Linked DNA regions of Homo sapiens: all the other regions are linked to region 2. The links are contacts of gene promoters, found by promoter capture Hi-C in human tissues and cell types (Jung and others, 2019). All regions are on one chromosome and are shown on one strand. The core of a region is centred on a gene start or on the middle of the fragment in contact, and the rest is flanking DNA. Distances in the headings are between cores, read along the strand shown. Region 1 overlaps AIDA (axin interactor, dorsalization associated). Region 2 holds the start of DISP1 (dispatched RND transporter family member 1). Region 3 overlaps DISP1 (dispatched RND transporter family member 1).

Region 1 (2,891 bases), core at 381-2,880, 120 kb after region 2:
GCACTTTGGGAGGTCGAGTTGGGAAGATTGTTTCAGCCCAGGAGTTCAAGACCGGCCTGGGCAACATGGTGAAACCCCATCTCTACTGAAAATACAAAAATTAGGTAGGCGTGGTGGTGTAAGCCTGTAGTTCCAGCTACTTGGGAGGCTGAGGTGGGAGGATCACCTGAACTCGGGAGGCGGAGATTGCAGTGAGCTGAGATCATGCCACTGCACTCCAGCCTGGGCGACACAGTGAGACCCTGTCCCCCCCCCCCCAAAAAAAATCAAGAAATGAGTCTATCGTATAATGATTAGACTGATGAGAAAAAATTAACTTTTTCTTAATTTTCTTCAACTTTCTAAGGCTGAAGCTGGTGTTTGATAAAGCTATTTAGTTTTAAATTTATAGCTATTCCTTAGCAGCCACATGGCCACTGTCTTTTTTCAGCTTATCTTTGGTTGCAAAGACCCGCAGATCTTTTTTTTTTTTTTTGAGACGGAGTCTTGCTCTGTCACCCAGGCCGGAGTGCAGTGGCGCTATCTCGGCTCACTGCAAGCTCCGCCTCCCGGGTTCACGCCATTCTCCTGCCTCAGCCTCCCGAGTAGCTGGGACTAAGGCGCCCGCCACCGCGCCCAGCTAATTTTTTGTATTTTTAGTAGAGACAGGGTTTCACGTGTTAGCCAGGATAGTCTCGATCTCCTGACCTCGTGATCCGCCCATCTGGGCCTCCCAGAGTGCTGGGATTACAGGCGTGAGCCACCGCGCCCGGCCCGACCCACAGATCTTGTACCCCAAAAGGACCAGGAGGCAGCATGACCTAGACGAGAGAGCTGAGATCTGGAGTCAGAAGACTGGGAGTCTTGCTCTTGCTCTGGCTGTGGCCTTAATTTTCTTATGTATGAAATGAGGGACTAGAAAACTCTAAATGATCTTCAGAGTATCCCTGAATCTTCTCATGTCCTCTACTTTGAAGTGTTCTGCCCTGCCTTCTTTACTGGAGGCCTGATTTCTGAGGCATTTATTATTTATGATACCTGCCTAGGAGGCATTTGTGGCTGCCAGTTGAGACTACAGAGAGAGCTTGTGCCTGCCTGCCTATTCTTTGGACTTGGATAAGGAACCCCAAATCACTGTATACTACATTGTGAATATAAGGCAATTTGTATGCCTTTAAAAGTTTAATTTTCTTAGCCGGACGCGGTGGCTCACGCCTGTAATCCTAGCACTTTGGGAGGCCGAGGTGGGCAGATCACGAGGTCAGGAGATCGAATTCACGGTGAAACCCCGTCTCTACTAAAAATACAAAAAATTAGCCAGCGTGGTGGCGGGCACCTGTAGTCCCAGCTACTCGGGAGGCTGAGGCAGGAGAATGGCATGAACCCGGGAGGCGGAGCTTGCAGTGAGCCGAGATCGCACCACTGCACTCCAGCCTGGGCGACAGAGCGAGACTTGTCTCAAAAAAAAAAAAAAAGTTTAATTTTCTTTAAAAATGCAAGCAAAACATTCACAGCGGGCCAAAAAAAGCCATACTGACATGTAGGCCTTATTTCAATGTCACATAGGGAATAAGTTATCAGAGGCTCTAAGTTAATAAATGATTAGAAAACAGATCTTCCAGGTGTATTCTGGGGAACATTGGTTCTGAAAAATTAATAGATGTTATTTGAACAGATAGAGTTTGTGACTTCTCGGGACCTTTAGTATGCACATGTGTACGTTTAATATTTTAAAGAGTTTGGGCATGTAGTATTTTAAAATTTATTTGCTTTTGGAAGTCTCCGTCTCCCTTCAAAGAACATTTCATTGAGTCCAGTGTTCTGAAACATATTATGGGAAATTTTGATATAAACTGTTGGATCTGCAAAATTAATTAAATGCCTAGCATGCAAGCCAAAGGAGAAAAAACTCAATTGTGTTTTCTTCAAAAGAGGAAAATGGAAAATGTTCTTTACATTATGCTAAGCAAAATTGTTGTTTATGTTTTTTATTTTTAATTGGAATTTTTATGCTTTTACTATTTTTAGTGTTTTTGTAGCAATGGCAAATCTTAGAATTATGCCAACCGTTCAATAGTTTGCACAACTTTGAAAGAAAATTAAAAAAACAAAACAAAACATACTTTGGCCAGACGGGGTGTCTCACACCTGTAATCGCAGCACTTTGGGAGGCCGAGTGAGGCAGATCATGAGGTCAGGAGATCGAGACTGTCCTGGCTAACACGGTGAAACCCCGTCTCTACTGAAAATACAAAAAATTAGCCAGGCGTGGTGGCGGGCACCTGTAGTCCCAGCTACTCGGGAGGCTGAGGCAGAACAATGGCATGAACCTGGGAGGCGGAGCTTGCAGTGAACCAAGATCCTGCCACTGTACTCCACCCTGGGCTACAGAGCTAGACTCTGTCTCAAAACAAACAAACACAAAACATATTTTTAAAGTGCTTTCTTTATGAAACTTGTTACTGTCTAGTGCACAGTGAGCCCTTAAAAATATTTGATGGGCCAGGCGTGGTGGCTCATGCCTGTAATCCCAGCACTTTGGGAGGCTGAGGCGGGCGGATCACCTGAGGTCTGGAATTCGAGACCAGCCTGCCCAACACGGAGAAACCCCGTCTCTACTAAAAATACAAAATTAGCTGGGCGTGGTCAGACATGCTTGTAATCCCAGCTACTTGGGAGGTTTAGGCAGGAGAATCGCTTGAATCTGGGAGGCAGAGGTTGCAGTGAGCCGAAATCACACCACTGCACCCGAGCCTGGGCAACAAGAGTGAAACTGCGTCTCAAAAAAAAAAAAAAAAAAAATTGATGAATAAATGCTATTCTGTTGTCTTAGGTTGTTGATATTTATTCACATATGATTGTTATTTAAGACGATTAATTCTGTTTTTTAGATAAATTCTCATTTTTGAGAG
Region 2 (2,739 bases), core at 237-2,736:
AATACAGTAATTTTTAAAACAAAAACTTCTAACATTTGAAATGTGAAACACCTGAAACAAGCAAAGCAATCATCAGATCTCACCCTCCATCAGTGACAGTGTTATGATTCTTCCTAGCTACCTTGCTCACTTTGTGGCAAAAATCCAATTCACTTACTACCTACTTAAAAGCTAGGAGAATCTTTGTAATTACACTGAGTGAAACACTATATTATGTAGATTAGGAAGCACATATTAATCACATCCAATAAAACATAAATGCAAGGTAAATAATAACTAAATCAATAATTACCTTTGGTAATAATAATGAGCCCACATACCAAACACTGGCCACTGGGGAAAACTAAATGTGCTAATGTGCGTGTAACAACAGATCTTGGGTTATCAATATTTTTAAAAAACACTGACAATGGCAAATATTTATATATATATATATATATATATATATATATTTCCTTACAGCAGAAATAAAAAGGAACAGTAAAATCTTAAGAACTGCTAGTAATTTGCTGCACCCTGATGTAAAATTGCCTTTATTGGTTAAACTAAAAGACTAAACCCAACAAAATAGCTTTTAGAAAAAATGTGTTAGAAAGTTGGACAGAAAAACAATGAGTTGAAACTGCAAACATTGACAGCACTGGCTTTCCATGTGATTATCACCATAATTCTGAACGCATTTAGTTCATCCCATGACAAGGGAAATAAGACAAGCTAAACTCTGCAGGGTAGAGAAGAGTCCAAAAGGAAAACTTTGGTTGTCTTCCTTGGGTGAAGAGAACTCTCAACTACTATCAGTTTGACAAAGACACGCAGAATCTGGGTGAAGCAAGAATTCGAGCGGTCCCTAGGAATATACAATATTTTCCCGAAATCCACACGCGCGGAGCGGGATATATTTCTAAAAACAAAAAACAAACTGCATGAATTGCAAATGAAGCAATAGGAGTTCAGCATCCAATAGGTGGCTGGTCATCTTTCTGGTTCGTTAGGTCAAGACGTCCTTCTCACCTACGACCCTCAGAGAAGGACTGACTCCCTCCTCTGTAACCTCTCCCTGGAAGCCAACCTTTGCCATCTCCTGCCATCCTCTCAGTCAATCCGCCAGGACCCGGGACACGCCCCCACGAATGACTACTTTCCTCCGAGATGCAACTCTGCCCCGTGTCATCCGCAACCTCCAGTCTCAGGGCCTCTTTGGCCTCAGGGTCCCCGGTGCCTCCCTCCTCAGTCCCTAAAGGCTGCCCTTAGGGCTCTCCTGGTTCCCCGTTCTCAGTCCTGGCCCTTCTCTCAAGCCTGGGGTCCCGGATTTCCCTCCACACGCGCGGGAGATGCCGACTCTCCCGTCCCTACCCGGTCTCCCAGTCCCGCGGCGCCGGGCGGCGGCGCGCCGAAAGGCATCCACTGAGGAAACAAGTGCCTGCAACGTTCCGGCTGCGAACTCACCTCCAGTCCGGGCTCTCGGATGCTGGCCCGGAGCCGGGCTTCCGCCTGGCGCGGTCCGCGTCGCGAGCGGGACCGGAAGTCCCGCCCCTCGCCCGCTCCCGGCCCGCTCCCGGCCCGCTGGCCTCGCTTGACTACCGCTCCCCGGGAGAGGGATCGCCGGCGGCGGGCGACGGGCGGCTGGCAAGGGGCAGAGGGCAGAGGGGCTTGGCTTGAAAGGGCGAGGCAGGCGCCAAAAAAATTCCCTCTCGCGCTCCTGCTCTTTCTAGTGTATCCATCGACCAGTGTGCAAATGCTTGACCAAGCGTCTATTCTGCCCAAGCCCAGTGAGGCACAAGATGACTCAGACACTGACCTCTGTCCTCACAATCTAGTTAAAAGTTGACATAAGTAAAAACAGAAGTAAATCACGCCACAAGACAGTGTTTCTTCTTTCATTATTCAGATTATTATCACCTGCTATATAGGCCTGTGAACAACCAGGCACTGCTGTAGGGGCTGGGGATAGAGCGAACAGAGGACAGCCCCACTCTCGTGAGGCTTACACTCAGGGCGAGGAACTAGCTATAGAATAAATCGAACAGCGGCGGCTCCCTCGGGAGGCTTATGCACAGAAACAAAAATATATAAGCAATGAAACCATCAAGTGTTAGAGGCACTCTGGTGGTGCTGTAGGGAACGGTGCAATGTAGAGAGCTGGGCGGAGAAGGCTTTCTAGAAATAATGACTCTTCAATTGAGACTGAAATAAATGATGAATAAGAGTTAAAGGACAGGCACAGTGGAGAAGGGCATGCAGAGAAGAAGGACGTTATGGAGTGAGAGCTTGGCTTGTACCGGTAGCTGGCCAGGAGTTAAGCAAAGTGTCAGATGGCAGATGCAAGAGCAAGCATAATGAGAAGAGACAAGGCCAAATCATGAAGAACGTTGTGCCCTATGCTTAAAAATTTTGGACTTCAGAGACTCCGTGCAACGGAATCCGTGGGGTCATCTAAGGGAATAGACAAAACAGTGAGTCATGGGGTTGACTAGGGGGATTGTCCTAGTCATCAAAGAAAAATAATACATCATGAATAGCATGTTTTATCCTTGAGGGTGCTTTCTTGAACTGCCATACCCAGATGTAAAGGCAATAGACGGCTACCACAACCCTATAAAGGCAGGACCACAAGGGATCATACCCCTCAGGTTGCTGCATTGAGCAAATCACCCCAACCAACTGAGATGCTAACTGAAGTCACAGGGAACTATGGAATGGGCCCAGAAGAAAGAAGCTTCAACACCAGCTACAGTAATG
Region 3 (2,934 bases), core at 16-2,515, 80 kb before region 2:
TAACATTCTAGATACAAGCCCTTTGTCACACATTGTATTACAAATATTTTCTCCTACTTTGTACCTTGCTTTTTCTTTTTACCTTTTTTTTTTTTTCTCTGAGATAGAGTCTCACTCTGTCACCCAGGCTGAAGTGCAATGGTGCGATCTCAGCTCACTGCAACCTCCACCTCCTGGGTTCAAGCAATTCTCCTGCCTCAGCCTCCGGAGTAGCTGGGATTACAGGCGCCCACCAGCACACCCAGCTAATTTTTGTATTTTTAGTACAGACGGGGCTTCAACATCTTGCTCATGCTGGTCTCAAACTCCTGACCTCAGGTGATCTACCTGCTTTGGCCTCCCAAAGTGCTGGGATTACAGGCATGAGCCACCGCGCCCAGCCTCTTTTTTTTTGAGACAGGATTGTGCTCTGTCACCCAGGCTGGAGTGCAGTGGCAGGATCATGGCTCACTGCAGCCTTGACTTCCCAGGCTCAAGAAATCCTCCCATTTCGGCCTACCGGTAGCTGGGACCACAGGCATGCATCACCATGCTCAGCTAATTTTTTTCATTTGTAGAGACGGTGTCTCCCTATGTTGCCCAGGTTGGTCTCGAATTCCTGGATGTAAAGCTATCCTCCCACCTGGACCTCCCAAACTGCTGGGATTACAGGCATGAGCCACTGCACCTTGTAGCCTCGCTTTTTCATTTTTTAAATGGTATCTTTTGAAGAGCAGAAATTTGTAATTACGATAAAGTCCAATTTATCAACACTTTAAAAAATCTTATGAATAGGCTTTTTAAAAAATCTTGAGAAATCTTTGTGCCTTTCCTAAGGTCACAAAGATTCTCTATGTTTTCTTCTAAAAGTTTCATAGCCTTAGGTTTACAGCATTTAGGTCTATAATCTACTTTTAGAAAATTTTTATATTTGCTGTGGGATAGAGATCAAGTTTTCCCTCTCCACCTGCAAGAGATCCAGTTAACCCATCATATGTGGAAAAGACTGATCCTTCTCCATTGAATTACCTTGGCACCTTTGCTGAAAAATCAGCCGGCCATGTATGTGTGAGTCTTTCAGGACTCTTTATTCTGTTCCATTGATCTGTTTATCAATCATGTTATTTTAAAGAGATAAAATGTACATTAATTATTCTGTTTGTTATAAACAGTCAGAACTGGGCAACTACTGATGTATTCCCAGCATTCCCTCACAAAGGAAAAGAAAATCACAGATTGCGAAAAATGATGAGATAAATGGCAGAAGTTTGTATTTCATCATTTTTTTAAAAAATCAGTTATTCTTAAAACAATAAATATAAGCCAAATTAACAGTAAAATGTGTTGAATTTATTTTCTAAGTTGACTGGTATTCGGTTAACTACTTGGAAAGAGTACAGTGGCAAAAAAGCACCAAGGTCTACAAAAGGTTCCTAATGAGCCTTTCAGAATTTCCCTGATAACTTCAGCTGAGCATTCAACTGGACAGTATCTCCTTAGGCTCATCCCTGGTCAGCTGTTCCAAACCATAACAACCTACCTCTGGTATCTCAGCCCTGCCCTTTGCCCATCACAATTAAGAAATGTGAGTGTACTCCTTTGGAAAGAAAACTGAGACTATTCTCTAGATTTTCAAATGCATCTGTATTTCTACCCATCCTGAAATCCTTCCCCCAAAATAAGGAAAGAAGAAAGGGTGTCCCTACTCAGATGCTTATTTTTCTACCTGTGGGTCCTTAATCCCAGCCTTTGGGTCAAATCAATCTCTTAGGTGGTGTTTCTAAATCTTTAGGAAATAAATTGGAATCTACAAGAATTCTCAATCTCGTAGGTTATTCTGTATTTTTCAAATATTTATTTATGTGTTTTAAAATAATAATGATGGCACCCGCAGCCCGTCTGGAGCAGCCGCTGCAGCGTCGCCGGCTGTAGCAGGGGAGGCACAGCCGGGTTCGTGGTGCCTGTTCCAGGGAGCCAGCGGGAGCGGGAACAGGTGGGAGCCCCACCCATTTCCGAATTGGCAAAGCAGGAGCCCCATGCTCCCAGGCGCAGCTACAGCCACCCAGCCATGGCTGCGGACCCAGGCATCTCTGCACTCTTGGGGGCCCGAGAAGCCCCCTGCCCCCACAGGCTTGGAAGTGACTGCTCCTGCTGCCTGGCCTCCCCCTGCTCCCTGCTCCCAGCACTCGCTCTGATTTGGGAGCAAAGTTGAAGCCGAGTCCAGGCGCTGTCGCAACCCGGGCGGGTGTGTGCACAGTTGAGGCAGTGCTAACACTCCAGCCCCCTGCTGCCTCAGTCCCCTCTGGACTTTGGGTGCCTACAAGTATGGGAGGGAGCCCGAGGGGGCACTGAGGGTGGCTCAGCATTGGCCTGCAGGTGCCTCTCTGCAGGAACAGCCTGGGCGCGATGGACTAAAGTGACTTACGGTGTCAGGAGGCAGACTGGCTCCTGGGTGGAAAGGGGTAGGTCCCTGGTGAAGCCCCACCTTCAAGCCAGGGACGGCCTGAAGCCTGGGGACCGGGCTGTCAGTTCTAGGTGAAGTCTGCACCGGGAGTGAGAACTTAGGGAGCTTTTTCTGGGCCCAACCATGGATCAACCAGTACACACTTCCTGCCTTATGAGACCCATAACCACCCACCCAGTCAGATTCACACAGACATGGGGACTACCGGCTGGGAGAAGGAACTACCCACTTCACGTCTCCTCAACTTGTAGGGATGACCTGCCTGCGGGAGGGAGCTACCCACTTCGGGTCTCCTGAGAACTGTTCTGCCACTCAATGAAGCTCCTCTCCACCTTGCTCACACTCCAGTTGTCCATGTACCTCATTATTCCTGGACACGGGACAAGAACTTAGGACCTGCTGAATGGCAGGGCTGAAAGAGCTGTAACACAAACAGGGCTGAAACACGCCCCCACTCCATTAGCCACGTTGTGGGCAACAAGAAGGAGAGA

Evidence for each region. The method cuts DNA at HindIII sites, captures the fragments that hold promoters and counts their contacts. A contact is called where the count stands out against the background at its distance.
Region 1: a fragment that was not itself captured here is called in contact with the fragment with the promoter of DISP1 in region 2 in 2 of the 25 tissues and cell types used here (mesendoderm cells and thymus).
Region 3: a fragment that was not itself captured here is called in contact with the fragment with the promoter of DISP1 in region 2 in 2 of the 25 tissues and cell types used here (IMR-90 fibroblasts and mesendoderm cells).

Annotation. Positions count from the first base shown.
Region 1 is chr1:222,698,339-222,701,229 of GRCh38, reverse strand. The region is part of intron 2 of AIDA (axin interactor, dorsalization associated); the gene reads left to right. Among named protein-coding and RNA genes, the nearest start is that of AIDA, 13 kb to the left of the region's middle. The HindIII fragment of the contact is 6,571 bases long and covers 1-2,891 here.
Region 2 is chr1:222,813,786-222,816,524 of GRCh38, reverse strand. DISP1 (dispatched RND transporter family member 1) reads right to left here and starts at 1,486. Exons shown (of 9, transcript NM_001377229.1): 1 at 1,447-1,486. RefSeq lists silencers at 1,526-1,625, 1,716-1,795 and an enhancer at 2,036-2,095. The HindIII fragment of the contact is 9,383 bases long and covers 1-2,739 here.
Region 3 is chr1:222,893,767-222,896,700 of GRCh38, reverse strand. The region is part of intron 1 of DISP1 (dispatched RND transporter family member 1); the gene reads right to left. Among named protein-coding and RNA genes, the nearest start is that of DISP1, 80 kb to the right of the region's middle. The HindIII fragment of the contact is 8,490 bases long and covers 1-2,934 here.